Linked DNA regions of Homo sapiens: all the other regions are linked to region 1. The links are contacts of gene promoters, found by promoter capture Hi-C in blood cells and fetal thymus (Javierre and others, 2016). All regions are on one chromosome and are shown on one strand. Each heading gives the region's core, a stretch centred on a gene start or on the middle of the fragment in contact. The rest is flanking DNA. Distances are from core to core; before and after follow the strand shown.

Region 1 (5,092 bases), core at 1,138-3,637:
TTTGTTCGTTTTTCTTGCATTATGTGAAAAGTACTATCCGAATCAGGAGGAAGCAATGAGGCTACGAGTAGAAAGGCATAAAATAAGGAAGGGCTGCCCCCCTTTGACCGGGAAGCAAGGAAATGTGGAAAACACAGAGAAACCTCATTCGGTACAACCCTGCTGCTTCCCTTGCGTTGCTCCCCATCTCAGCAACTGGCTGGACTGGAAAGATTCACTTCTCTGACCTAAAGAACTTTGATCCGCTGAGTTTAGAAATTCTCTGTCCAGAGCCGCCCACATTCCGGGAAAAAGACCGCGCCTCTTTTAAACTGACAAAAAAAGTTTTTTCTTGCTGTGGCTGCCTGTGGTTCTGGGAAGGACTTCCAGCCTCTGCTTATCACCGCGGCCAACAAAATGCACTGGAAAGGAACCAATACTAGTGTGTGCTAGTACAGTCTGCTGTTCCCAGGGGTCTGGCTTATTAGCGGGTGCTTTCCTCTTTTCCCCCACCACCAATTCCTTACAACATGCCCATCCTCTCAGGGTTTTATTGAGGTGTGGCGGGGGGATGGGGGACGGCTTGGTGCTGAACTGTAGCGGCTGGAAGGAGCAGCGCGCTGGCACGGTGGGGATGGCCAAGGACTCCCAGTATGTGGAGAGTTGAGCCAAAGGGAAGGGAACACATAGGAAAGGGTCCGGGACAGCGAAGACGATTCCTCAATCTGAGCAGTTCCAAAAGTGCGCTAGATCCAGTTTAAACAAAAGAGCAAGATCCAAAGCCAGAACACTGGATCTCCAGACTAGTTGTAGCTAGCATCCTCCGTCTTCCCTTCCTGAAGACCACGCCCCTCTGGACCGATTGGGGAAACTACCATCAGCAGGGGCTTTCAGAGGAGGGCAGAGTGGGAATGGCCTTTGGTTTAGCTCTAAGGTTCCTTTTCTAACCTCTCCGACGAGGTAAAGACTAAGGGACAAGCGCGAGGCGGCACCGAAAACAGCAAGTGAGGAAGGCGAATAAAGCCAGGCAGGTGTGAGGAGGGTCCAGATTGCAGAAGACGAGGAACGGGCTACGAATTGTGGGCGGATGCAAGGGGTGGGGAGGGCGGGCCAGGGCCTGTGGGAGCCCGAAGCACGTGCTGGCAGAGAAGCAGCGGAGGGGCTGGGCAGGGGCTAGGACCGGTTACAGAGAAAGGAGTCGGGGAGACTGGCAGGCTGGAAAGCCGGCGCAGGGAGGTCACCTTTGATGTAGACATCGTCGTCGGCGCGCATGAACCACTCATACTTGTCCAGGTAGTGGTCGTGCATGTACTTGATCATCATGAAGGACTTTTTCTGGGGAGGATAGGAGTCGTCCACACCCGGTAGCGCGATGACAGGCAGGGGTGGCGGGGGCTGGCCGGCGTTGGGGGGCTGCTGGCTGGAAAAGAACTCCACGCGGCCCGGGATGAAACGCGCCCAGGTCCGCTGCGCGGCCAGCGCGCGGCTGCCCAGGTACTTCTGCGCGGTCATCACCCCCACGTACAGGAAGTCCCGGGGTCGGGCGCTCGGGGCGGCAGCGCCCCCGTCCCCGCTGCCGTTGTGGCTACTCCCCGGCCGGCCGTCTCTCCGCTGCCCAGCCGCGCCCCCGTCCTCCTCCTCGGGCTCCCCCTCGGCCGCTGGAGCACCGGGAAGCCCCGTCGCGCCCTCAGGCTCGCGTCCTCGCCGCCGCTGCTGCAGCGGAGGTGGCTGCTGCCAGGGGCTGCTTCGAAAACTGGTGATCCCGGGTGCTGCCTCGGGCAGCGGTGGCCCCTGGAGATCCTGGCGCGCGGGGGGCGGCGACTGCTCCTGCCGTGGTCGGGACTGGGGCTGGGGGAGCGGCTGCTGAGCGCCGGCGCGGGGGCCAGCAGCAGAGCGACCGTAGTAGGAGCAGAGGCTGGAGCCACGTCTCTTCCTCTCGCTCAGCTCCGCCACCCTGGGGGCGATGAGCCAGGACGCGGCGGTGAAGCCCAGCACCAGCCCTAATGCCACGCTCATCCACGGGCGGCGAGAGCGCACAGCCATCGCGGCTGTCCCGGGCGCGGACGCTCGCTGGGCTGTCGCGGCGCGGCACGCGGTTTCCCCGGCTCACACCCGCCCCTCCTCCGCCTTTGCGCCCCCAGCCGCGGCCGCAGCCGGCCGCCTAGGCGCCGACACCGGCTGGAGGTCGAAGCGCCGCGGACGCCTCGACTGCCGCGGGCTGCAGCTGCCTGCCGGGCTCCCGCTCAGCTCTGGGCCGGGGCTCCGAGCAAGGGTCGGGAGTGAAACTTCTCCCGGCGGCGGCGGTGGCGGCAGCGGCGGCAGCAGCGGCAGCTGGAGGAGCTGCAGGAGGAGGAGGAGGAGCAGCGGCGGCGGCAACGCGTCCGCTCCTAGGCTGCCACCCTGTCAGTGGCGCGCCTGGGCCCTCCCTCCTCCCTCCTTCCCGAGCCCCCGCCCTCACTCCCGCCTCCCGCTCCCCCCGCCGCCGGGCTCCGAGCTGGCCCGGAGGAGGAGCCGCAGGCGGCACCGCTGCCAGCCGGAGAGAAGCGCGGGCCGCGGTATTTCCCCGTCACCCGCCCTTGGACGCCCCCCGTCCGCGCCTCAGTCCAGAGCCGGCCTCCTCTCCGGAAGGAAACGATCCCTGTCGGGCCGCCTCCGGCTTGCAGCGCCGACGCCCCCTCTTCCCTCCTCCCCCAGCTCTTGCTCTTCGTCCCATTTCCCGTCCCGTCCCGCCCCTCCGCTGGCCTCCCGACACTCGTGTCTGGGGGCTCTACTGGCCTCCTCCCGGCGCCTAGGCTCCGCTGACCTCATCGGCGGAGCTCGGGTCCGGGAGCCCCCAGCAAGTTCGTTGCTGTCCCACCGTGCTCTCCTCCCCCGGCCCACAGCCGGGTACGTCCTGGCGTGACCCTTACCACTCTGCCCCGCCCCAGGTCCGCCAGGGCGCCACTCTTCGCGTTTTCCGTCCTTTCCACGTTGTTCTTACCGCTGCCACTCCGCGCCTTCTCTCTCTAGTCGGTCACTTGTCAGGAAACCAAACGTCCCATCCCAGCACCTCTCCTCCCAGCCTAACTTCCCTCCTACCTGCATCGTCCACCAGCTCTCCTCAGTCCTTCACAGAAGCACCATTGTCGTTAGGGTCTCTCCTAAGAAAATCTCTGAGGGATTGGAAATACTTATCCTGAAAGGCTAAGGGAGTTGGTGGTGTGTGGGGGTTCAATCCCCAAAGAACGTAAAAATCCCATGTCCTCCACCTGTTGAGTTGGAAAATGTGGGGCTGCCTAATGGTCTCCCCCTCGGCTCTCCTGATGATATCTGTTCAAGAAATGAGAACTATGGTCTATTTTCAGTCTTGGTAGAAGATTGGCTCAGTGGGACTGGCAAATAGTGGAGAAATGGGCACACATTCACAGGGCCAATACCCTGAAGATCCAAACGAAAGAAATTCTTACCCCCACAAAATAAGTGAACTTAATCAAAAAATAAAATGGAGGATATGATTTTTATTCTTGCCTATGAACCGTTTTATTTTCTAAGGCAAAGACAGGAAAATTTTACCTCTCCAATGAGGGAGGAAAATTGTCCAGCAACAGAATCTCAAAAAAAGTTAAGCTGTATTGGCCAAAATCATTGTGCCTTAGTTACGTTAGGAAGAAATTACCTGAAGGTATATGATTTTTGAAGAAGGGAGCATTAACAAATTTCTCTCTAAAGGTTGTGCATAAAGCTATAGTCTGGGGTGCATTTGGCATCCCAAGTACTTCCTTCTCTTCAAATTTCAGTCTTCTGTTTTAGACATCAAACGCAAAGGGATGGTATTGAATGGCATTAGACATAATGGCTCGATCCAGCGAGGTGCTGGCAGCGTCCCTGGAACACTAGGCCTGCCTGGAGCCTTTGGAGGAATGGTTCTTTCCACACCGGTCCCTGGCTGTGCATGAGCACGTCTGACTAAATGTTTCATCTGCTGGACAATGAAGCTCCTTTTCCATGTCTAGGTTTTTCCCAGAGACACTTGGGAATACAGATTACTGGGCTCTCTCAAAGTTAAATTTTAGTTAGAATACAAAGCTAGTCAAACAGGCCCCTTCTGATTTTTAAATCGTCAAAGGCATTTTAAAATTTCTAGAATAGTACTATTCAATAGAACTTTCGCTATAATGGAAATTTTTTTTTATTTGTGCTGATAAGACAGTAGCCACATAAAATTATGGAGCATTGAAAGGTGACTAGTGTGATTGAAGAAATGAATTTTCATTTTATTTAATTTTAATTACTTTTTATTTAAATAGCCCCATGTGGCTAGGGGTTACCATGTAGGACAGCACATTTACAGAGGATTTCCTATTGCATATGGTCAACAGTAAAGGACAAATAAGTCCACCTACACACCAGTACCCTCTCCCCTGCAGTATTCAACTGGGCTTTATGGTAATGGATGCCATTCATATTGTTGATCTACAAAATCATTAATTCTCATTGGGCATAAATAACCCAATTCATCAACTGTTTGGAATATTTGGAGAGGAAGTTAATTTCATTCACTTATTCAACAAGTGTATATTAGAGATTAAACATTAGACAAGGTGGAAGGCTCTGGACATGGAGATGTCAACAAACTATTCAGTGCTTCCCATCATGAAGCTTATAGTGCATTGAAGAAGACACATTAAACATCACACTAGGAAATGAATTACAATGGTGATAAATGATATGAATAGAAATACAGAGTACTCTGAGAATATTTATAAGAGCATCTAATTTAGTATGGGAGTCAGGGAAGGCACTAGAAAAGATTCAGATAAAATGAAATCATTGAAGTGATATTACATATGAGACAAGTGACCTTGGGCAAGTTGTGAAAATTCTAAGTTTTTGATTTCTCATCTGTAAATTCATTTCTGTGAGGCTTTATTAATATACTATATGAAGTGCTTAACATAATGTTTAGTTCATTGTAAACACTTGGGAAATGTTCTCATTTTCTAATCCCTTCCCTTATGCTAAAACGTCTCTCTCATGGTATCTATCATCTTATTTTTATTACATTTCATCTTTTCATTTATTTAACAGATACTTATTTAGTATGTACTGTGAGGCAGACACTATCACTGAGAAA
Region 2 (5,092 bases), core at 1,508-4,007, 980 kb before region 1:
AGTTAGGCCAAGAGGTGGAAAAAATATTCAAATCAGAGGGAACCACATATGCAAAGGCCAGGAGAAAGAGAGAATGGCATGTTTAGGTCACTAAAAATGAAACTCATGCCATTTTCTTTATATGACCCAGGAAACTGGTTAATGGACACTCCTAGTTAGAGACTGAGATCAAAGCAATGGTTCTTATGTTACTGCTGATGTGTTCTGATATTATTACAATAACAGAAATTTATGGATTCACAGACCGTTCAGATTTTCCAAATTCAGCATCTAAAGAAACTGCAAAAAATTTGGCTAATGTTTGTAATTTTGTCCATCTATTCTTCTCTCTCTGTCTACACACACACACACACACACACACACATGCAAGTCCCTTTGTATCTGTGGATTCTGCACCTGTGGATTCAATCAACCTCAGATAAATAGTATTCTGAAAAAAAACCTACTCCAAAACAATAAAAGTGATACAAATAAAAAATTCAGTATAACAACTATTTACATAGCATTTTCATTGTATTAGGTATTATAAGTAATCCAGAGATGATTTAAAGTATACAGGAGAACGTGTATAGGTTAATATGTAAATACTACACCATTTTATATAAACAACTTCAGCATCCTTGGATTTTGGTATCTGCAGGAGGTCCTGGAACCAATTCCCCATGGACACTGAGGGATAGCTGTACACACACACACACACACGGTTTTAAAAAATGTTTTGGAATAAGAAACACTAAAGCAAATGAAGAAAAACCAGATACATGTAATGTTCATGTTTTTCTGTTTTAGAGGTTTATTTTTCATAGAAATTTTCTATGAAAGGTAATATGCATTATATTTCAAAAGTTTTCATCTGTTTCTTTTCGGTCTTGGTGAGAAGAACTATCTTATATAGCTACATGATGTAAGGTGATTTCAGCTTGTGTGACTGCAGCCCAGTGACTTCAAAGACTTTTAATGGTATCAAAGACTACGTGTGGGGTGAGCCTCTGAGAACAAGGGTGTTTGCTTCATGTACCTGATCTGCTGCACCTGCGGGCTTAAGGAAAGGGAAGAATGCCCAAACTCGTTGTCCAACTTAGGCTACTGTGTTTTACTGCTTAGATCTGTGCTTACATAGACATGTGGAATGGATACTTGGGTACCAATATCCTATGGCTAATAATGCCATGCAAAACATTTCTGAATTTTACTTTCTTTAGAACTCATTGAAGCCTCAGATTCCTCAGAACTGGCTTGCTCCATGTACTGAGAACATGACACATGGCACATTAGCTACAGGACGACATGCTGATTTATGCATTTATGGTTTTGTTTAATCATCTATCATCACTAATTGTCAGAGATAAAGGTTTATTGTGTTTCTGTGACTTCCCGATGTGTTGTTCTCTTTTGCTTTTATGATCTTAAAAACATTGAGAGTACTTTTTTTTCCTCTTTCGTTTAATTTTTCTTATTGTCACCTTGTGCACATTAGCTGTGGTTAATTAAGAAAGGCGGGGCATTATGTAACTAAGGCATCCAGCTTATCTAATTTTCTCCTTCATTATAAACAAAAACAAGAAGCTCAACTAAAAAAAGAAAAGAACCTATTATACCTCTTCCCAGGTGTCTGCATTTATTAGAAGAAATTATTTCTAACAGAATGGGGGAGAGAGATGAAAACATATTTTTGGATGATTGGTTGGGAAAACGTACGACCATCTCTTGTTGGAGAGTATATTAGCAATCACAGCTGTTCATTAGTGGTCAGGCTTGAGTAATTAAGAGATTAATTAGAAGAGGAGATAAAAATGTGTTCACATTCTAAGAATAAAAATCACACTAATGAATAAATAAATACATTCTGATGAATAAATGAACACATTTATGCTTTAATATATCTGAATTTCACTGTCAAGTTCTGCAGATAATCTCCAAGCATTTATTAATAATAGATACATCACATAGATTGTATTCAAAGCAAAAAGCTTTGTATTGTATTCAATCAAAATGAAAAAGCTGCTCTGTAGTTCCACATTGCAAAGAGTGCCATCAGTCACATCCCCATAGCACTGGGAAGAAAAGACAGCTTCAGTTTCATTATCACACCTGACATACCTCTTTACCTGTCTATGATCCATCTAGATAAAGAAAATAAAAGGATCTTTGAGAAAACTGAGTTATCAGTCTGTGAGAGAGTGCTGTAGATTCTCCTTTCTTTTTTTTGGGCAAAAAGAGAGTAGGTTATTTTGATTTAAGCCAAATGAAGGAGTGACACTCCAAGAGATCTACTCACAGAGCACAGAGACTGGGAGGGTCTGAAGAAGGAGGTGTGAGTGGCACTGAATTGAAAGTTGGATGTTTGCTTATGCGGTGGGTTTGAAATCAGGATGTGGAAAATGTGAGACTAGGGGAAAGAGAGTTGAGCATTAGGGAAGTCACAGCTCCAGTGTTTAGTAGGTAAAGGACGATTCTCTCACGGACTAGTTGGGCACTGTGAAAGGTAACCGGGCTTCAGCCATGTTGCTGGAAGCAAAAGATCATGGATTATATGTCTGAGGGGTGGGAAGTCAGGGTGGATTGGGTGAGGTCTCTCTGAGTAGATTGTCTACATCAAAGAACTGAGTGTTCTCTGTGGGGCTTCCTGAAGAGTCTGCACATACTCTTACATGTGTGATAGTGGGACCTTGAACATCTGTGACATAGAAAGCATCAACCATCAAGGAGCATGAGCAGCAGCACCAGGGAAGTCAGAGGCATTCTCCCCTTTCCTCCTGTATTCACTAAAGTTCCAAACCATGGAGAAGGGGCAACCCAGAAAAGGGAGGGGGAGGAGGGAGAGAAGTGGAAGAGCTGACACTGTCACTCTCCAAGTGCTGGCCAGTCCCAGCAGGGAAAGATTAGAGCATTAAACTGCACTTGAGGGTTAAGTTTTAAACTGTTTTTAATGTTACTAGACTGGTTTGTTTTATAACTGAAATTGACTATGGAGTTTTCCATTCTGTCTGAAATGTCTTTAAAGGGAAGGCAAAGGAGACTTGATATAATTCATTGAAGAATAAAGGTTGGAAAGAAACAAAAATTCTTCTCATGGCTGTACTCCATTGAGTCAGACCGTTCAATATAGCCATGAGGAACTGTATGGTCTTATTCCTGATCATTTCTCTATTTTCATCTTCTAACATAATCTTCTGAATTCCGATCACTTTACTTCTACTGGTGCCAAGGTCTCTCCCATCTTAGACTGCTGTTCCCTCTGCCTGGAAGATTCTTTCCTGGATCTTCACAGCACTGGCTCCTGTTTCCCTCAGCTCAAATATCACTCTCTTAGAGAGGTATTTCCTGACTGCTGTTTAATGTCGTGAGCCTCCCTTGTGCAGTTACTTCATCTCATTACCCTGTTTATTTCCCTCATGCTATTTATCACCATCTCTAATTATTTTACTTACTTGTTTGCTTGTTTATTGGCATTGTGTCTGTCTATTTTACCTCTGTATGTCCCAGTGCCTGGGCTATAACCACTCAGTGAACGTGGATTAATGAATGAATGAAACAAGCTTCAATAATTCAAGATAACCTTAAGGTTATCTGTAAACAAGCAGAAAAAAAAACCCAATTGCTATGTAACCCTCTTCCAAATGTAAACTGGTGGCTAATGACATAATTAATTGGGGCTCTAGCTTAAGGCTTTTCACTGTAGGGAAACAGATGTTTCCATAAGTTCTGGTTTCCTTGTGACAAAATCATTCCCTTTAGAAAGCAAAATGAAATACTAATTTGTGTTTACTATGTATTAGATACGTTAAATATTTACTCATTTACTGCTACAAACTCTTTAAGGTCAGCATCGCAATTTTGTAGATTCAGAATCTAACTATTTTATAGAATTGGAATCTAAGGCTTCCAATGAGAACGTAACTAGTAATTTGTTGTGTCAGTACTGCATGCAAGCCTGTTTGGCTCCAAAGTCCATGGTCTCCCTGGAACATTGTATTACTTTCCATCATAAAAATCTCAGGCCACTAGTGACATCATTCATGACATTACTGGTGACTTTATGGACTTGAGATGCCCCTAACTCACTGTTTATGACTTTGGCTACAGAATCAAGGGCTCATTATAACAAAGTCTTGGAGTTGTTTATCTTGTTTTGCATGTATTGTTTGGACAGAACCTTAAAGCCCTAAAGAATATAAACTGTAGAATCATCTTTCACTGATTGTCTAAGACAAGGATTGTCTGTGCAAGTGATTTACTGGGAAGTGTTTCTAGGAGAAACTGTTAAGGGTGTGAGGGAGGTAGGACAGAGCAAGGCAGAAGCCAAGTAAGGGGCTAGTTTCAGGCAAAGTCCTGGGGAGGGTGTAGTGAATTCCTGCAGCGGCATTGCTGAGTAGAAGATGCATCTCAGAATTGTCTTGACCTGAGGGGAGGAGATGGGCTTCCATATTTCCCTGCCAGTCCTGCGCTAGAGGAGGAAGGTAGGGAGGTACAGAGGTAAACTTCTAGGTGCTTCTGGCTCCCTGCTATTGCAGCCCAAGCTGTGCCAGGACTCAAGAGCACCTAGTGGAAGACAGTCCTGCATAGAGAACTTTGGAGGTAAAAGCACATCAAAGCCCGAGGAAGGGTATGTGGGGATGGCAGAAGCGGTCCTGGGGAATTGGGGAAGCACCAATCAGTGCCCACTATATTGATCATAGCTATTTCATTTTAAAGGAAAAATTAAATGTCCTCTTGTACAATAAAAAATGGAAGGTTTATATTTGGTCATGATTGGGCTATTTAATTTAAGCTCTAGTGATAATTCGTCTCAGCTGGATATTTTTAAATGAAGGTAGAGAGTGACATGCTGTTTGCCAAGTTGGCTTTCAGTGGAAATGGCATGTGGTTCTAGTTGAGGCCTGGAGCCATAGGGAACAAGGCATCAGAAAATGCATTGGTCACTGATTTACACACATTGACTGCCCTCTGACTCTGTCTTTATTGTCTCTTCGGCCCTAAACCTCAGCACATTTATTGCTGCAGAGGCCAAATGTTCTTAAGGCAATCTATGGGGTGCCTTTCTTTCTGGCTGCTTCTTTATACTGAGAACCTTTGTAGTTCTTTCATTACT
Region 3 (5,092 bases), core at 1,620-4,119, 800 kb before region 1:
TATGGAGTCTTCTGTTCGATTCTGCATCTTGTAGGAGCTAGGATTAATCTTTGGCTCACTGTTCCTGTCATAACATCAGAACAGATACTCAGGGACACCAGGCTCAGCAGATGCCTCCAGGTGAAAGTCAGGTGGGTTGGTGAACACTTACCTATCCCTATGCAATGTTCTTTCACTTTATTTTTTGGCTTCTGATTATTGATTAGTTTCTTGCCAGCTGAGGGAAGAACTGATATGCATTAATATTTACTTTCTAGAACTTTAATTTCTTTCAGTGAGTATGACATCTGGGGGGGCGTCTAGGATATCACATACATAGACCCAGAAGCCTAAGCATATTTTCTCAGTGTACTACTTTAGATAATTTTTATAGATAATTTGAATGGCAGTCCAACTACCTTCTTGGGATGGAAGAGGGAAACATACTTAAGAACAGAACATAAATTTGCATGTCAAAACTTATTTGGCCTTAAGAATAATTGTAAAATGAATGAGAAAATGGTACAAGAGAGCAACATAAGGCTTAGAAATTTGAGAGTAAATGCACTTTGTCCAAAAACATAAATAAATAAAATAAAGGTTAGGGAAAAAATCTTTATTATTTGTGGGTGATGAGAACCTTTCATTAAATCCTTCTTTGGTGTTTTTGAAATCTTTGCATTTTTATTTAAACGTGGGTTGAATTTGTCATATACATGAATTGCTACAAGTTTTTCTTATTGCTTCTCTTTTCAACAGACTTTCTCTTCTTGATGCTGCTGTCTTATTTTTTCAAATCTTCAACTTCCTTTTAGTTGATTCTGCTTTAAATTAGTCTCCCAATCTGTTTCCTTCTCTCTCCCCATAGGTTTTTTTTTTTCCCAATTCTTCCTCTGACTCACAAACATACGAGACAGACATCTTGCTCACAGACTTTTCATTCTTTCCCTCCCCTTATCTCTGACATTTTTCTTCTACTCTTTTTACGTGAAAGAACTATTTTTTACAGAAATGTTTCTTCTCTTTTTCAAATTTTTGAAAAATTAGGCAGCATATGAAGAATCTTGGAAACCTGAAAATAAGTGATTAAAAGCTTGCTGAATAATAGTTATTTTTAAAATGGAGAATGCCTGAAAAAGCAAAGATCTCTCTAGTTTCACCAAAATGGGCAGAGTCAATAGGATTCTCTATGTTTATTTAAATGTAAATGTGAAGGTGATAGAAATGAAGATCTAAAGCAATGGTAGGAGAGAAAGGTTATGGGACACAATCGGTAATTATAACTAACAATCACATAAATTGAAATGGGTAATTTTACAGGCTTCTGAAAAGATTTAAAAGGATGGATTGTTGCATAAGCCGAAGGTAAAAATGACTGGGCTAATGTCTTTGGTCCCCTTTAAGAGTAAAAGCATTCCTAAGAGCAAAATGTAGTGATAAAAAAACAATGATTTTGTGGAATGTTCTGTATGAATATCCACATGTTCATGGTACTTTGCAGGTCACCACATGATTAACATTTAATGTTCACAACAATGCCAGTTCTTGCCCTCTCTATTTTTAAGGTGGGGAAACTGAGGCTTAGACCTGTTAGACAACTTTCCCTGGATCACGCAGCTGGTAGGTGGAAGTACCAGTATTCAAACACAGGTGGGCCATATTCTGAGGTCTGATTTCTTAACGAAAATGTTGCCTCAACTGTATAACCTAAAACCAAGGTAGGAAAGAAAATGGCAACCTGTGTGATTGCAGTGATCTTTTGTTGTGTTTTTAAAAAGAAGATTCCTTACATACCATATTCAAACTTCAATAAATCTTAAAGAAAATTTTGTCAGTCCTCATTCCATAGACAAGGAACATAATTCTCAGAGAACGGAAGGAACTAGCTCAAGTATGTCATTGGTTTTTGTGGGATGATAACCCCAATCATTCCACTGGCACAACCTCGACTCCTAAATTCAACTCTCTACTCTCTGTTCCCACCCACAAATTATCTTCCCCACTGATTTCTCACAAGACTTCTAATTCTTTTGTATTAAGGTACTGTGTATTCAGAAATCCTCCACTAACATGCGATTGTGTTGCCCAGAGGGAATATCACTATTGTTATTGTTTTTCTCTGGGTTTTCTTCAGACAGCTTCTTTTCGACTATCCAGCAGAAAGGAGCAGAGGAGTAGGTTCTGGACCAATTCTAACCCCCTTACTCACAGATGTTCTGCCTTGGGAAAAAAAAATATACAGTTGCTCTCTCAATGGGCAGGTTATTTGTGTTCCAAATTGTTCATGAGCATTAAGAACATTGTAGATTAATGAATGGTAGTATCTTAAGTGCAGGCATTGTACTATTTGGTGTATATGTTAATATTGAAGAGATTTTTGTTGTTGTTTTTACAAACTATACAGGTGAAGGTTCATCCTAGTCAATCTCTCTTGGTGACAGTATAGGGAACTGGAGCATTCATATTCAGAGAAAACTCTGAAATGAGTCCACAAAGAATTCTGCTTTCCAAGGACACAGAACCCTGTAATTTGAAGGCGAGTATAGAAAGTTGTGAAGCAAGTGACATATACCATTGATTTCCTCTGGCATCCTTATGCTTTCCAAACTTCACTGCACTCCTAAAGTTGTCTTTTTTTCTATTGTGGCTGAGGATTGCATCCATATACCTAGTAAAAACTCATGCTGTCAAAAGGAGAGCTGCTCACTGTGAGACTCTTTCATTAGGCTTTTTGGATAGACAAAGGCATTTCCTGATCAATGAAACATCTTGACAAACAATTCTGACGTATATAACAAAACTTTCATCACAGTCAAAACCAGAGGGGGACGATTCAACTTTTACTGAAACTGCATCAAGGAATTAGCAATTTAGCATTTTTCTTGAACTACTGAGGTGAAATAATTTACATGATGAGCAAAGGAGTAGCTTAAACAATGCTCTCCCTTAGGAACTATGAGCGCCAACAATACTGCAAAAACAATACGTACTGACTCATATTTCTGCAGATTCCAGCATAGTAGATTTCTTCATAATCAAAATGCAATTGAATCGTTATACCTCATGTTACTCTACAGATGCCTATGAATTATTTTCTGCTACCAGGAAATTGTTAAATAGTCTAAAGCACTGTGATTTTGCACTCATCTTTCATAGCTATTCTTCAGGGAGAACAGGGTCTTGGCTTCCTTTGGAGGCAGCAAGGCTCAGGCACTGAGTTCTGTGTTTGTGGTTCTCCTGAGAGCTGCCTCTGAGGAGCTGTGAAATTATCCCCACCTATTCCTAATTTGAAGAGTAAAAGCCTCATTGTTGATTTCACATCTTTTACATTGGCTAGGGCACGGCTTTATCAGAGTGTGCTCTCTTCCTCAGTATGTTGGAATAGTGGGGTAGGAAGAGAGAGGTTAGAAGAGGAAAATTGCATCAGTAATTGCAAGTATACCATATGAGTGTACGCTTTATTTCTTCTCGTAGTTTAAAACAACTTCTTACTTTAGTTTCTCTTATTTTAAGTACAAATCCACAAGTTTGCCTTCATCCTATTGCAGATGTGCTTAGGGCAATTAAAGGACCCCATCTGAAAGCAAAGAGTATAAATATAGGCACTTACAGACAAAAAGTGTATAATTGTTTTTTGTGATTCAGGTAAAGAGGAATAATTTGCCTTTGAAAAAAATCTCAATCTCACTGTAGAGTGTACTTAATAAATATTTTTTTCTTTCTTCTATTATTCCTTTTTTCTTTTATTTAAAAATGTTTTATTTCCCTCCTTATGATGAGTCATCGGCCATAAACTATTATTTTATTTTATTACAAGTTATTATACATGTTATTTATATAAATGGCAATAGATTAAAAACTCTACATATATAATTAAAATCTTGCTGAATAATCAAGATTCTGAAGACTTTTATTTCCAAAGTAAGGAAAACTGAACAATTTGAAAAATCTTGGTCTAGAATTCATATAACTATAGCTTTGGGATCACAACCCCTGATTTTTAGAAACTTTTCCCTGCTTTCTTTTCACAATCTTTTACCACTTCCTTCTACATCAAGCTGGCCTTTTATTTTAATGGGTTTTCCAGAGGGAACTCAGTGAAATAGAGGCAAATATTATTGGACATGATTTTAGTTGACAACTTCGCAGTATTGGTGTACTTTATGTTGTTACCTAATAGAACAAGAATAGTCAATTTAACAAGGTTTTTCTATATTATTTCATTTTAATATGGAAAAACCTGTGACTCATTACCAAGGTTTTGGGTAAATATTAAACCAAGGAGGCAGGAGGCAGTTAAAGAGGTATGGATTCTGGTTTTGCCAAGATGGTGAAATAACACGAATTGCAGGCTCTATGCCTCAACATAAACTTTGGAGAAATTATAGAAGCAAAAGGAAACTATGGATTCATGAAACTAACAAGGGAGAAATCTCCTGGAAGACAGAAGACTGTCTGTGAACTGGTTTGCACAGGATAGTTGGTTTGTAGTAGCCTGGGGCACAACAAGGCAGAAGTGGTAAATGAGAGAATGAGGGAACAACAGTGGATCTCCAATGATGTCCTCAGATCAGGAGCATCAGCATCACCTGGGATCTTACTGGAACTGTAAACTATTGGCTTATCCCAGACATACTGAATAAGAAACTCAGGGTAGGGCCCAATAATCTGTGTTTAAACAAGCTTTCCAAGTGATTCTCATACATGCTAAAGTTTGAGCAGAGAAAGGGTTTTATTTTTATTTATTTATTTATTTATTTATTTTTTATTATACTTTAAGTTCTAGGGTACATGTGCACAATGTGCAGGTTTGTTACATATGTATACATATGCCATATTGGTGTGCTGTACCTGTTAACTCGTCATTTACATTAGGTATATCTCCTAATGGTACCCCTCCCCCTTCCCCCCACCCCACAACAGGCACCGGTGTGTGATGTTCCCCTTCCTGTGTCCAGGTGTTCTCATTGTTCAATTCCCACCTATGAGTGAGAACATGTGGTGTTTGGTTTTTTGTCCTTGCGATAGTTTGCTGAAAATGATGGTTTCCAGCTTCATCCATGTCCCTACAAAGGACATGAACTCATCCTTTTTTATGGCTGCATAGTATTCC

What was found. Contacts are between HindIII fragments. The CHiCAGO score rates a contact against its expected background, and 5 or more counts as called.
Region 2: a contact is called between a fragment that was not itself captured here and the fragment with the promoter of CHSY3 in region 1, in 1 of 17 cell types (M1 macrophages). The highest score is 5.0, in M1 macrophages.
Region 3: a fragment that was not itself captured here is called in contact with the fragment with the promoter of CHSY3 in region 1 in 1 of 17 cell types (endothelial precursors); the score reaches 6.2 in endothelial precursors.

What each region holds. Positions count from the first base shown.
Region 1 is chr5:129,901,760-129,906,851 of GRCh38, reverse strand. It overlaps CHSY3 (chondroitin sulfate synthase 3), which reads right to left and starts at 2,387. Exons shown (of 3, transcript NM_175856.5): 1 at 1,221-2,387. The coding sequence starts at 2,022. It overlaps CHSY3-AS1 (CHSY3 antisense RNA 1), which reads left to right and starts at 925. Exons shown (of 3, transcript XR_002956248.2): 1 at 925-1,010. RefSeq lists a silencer at 2,020-2,229. The HindIII fragment of the contact is 4,826 bases long and covers 1-4,619 here.
Region 2 is chr5:130,884,114-130,889,205 of GRCh38, reverse strand. No RefSeq gene overlaps it. Among named protein-coding and RNA genes, the nearest start is that of HINT1, 280 kb to the left of the region's middle. The HindIII fragment of the contact is 1,569 bases long and covers 1,973-3,541 here.
Region 3 is chr5:130,704,732-130,709,823 of GRCh38, reverse strand. No RefSeq gene overlaps it. Among named protein-coding and RNA genes, the nearest start is that of HINT1, 460 kb to the left of the region's middle. The HindIII fragment of the contact is 3,590 bases long and covers 1,075-4,664 here.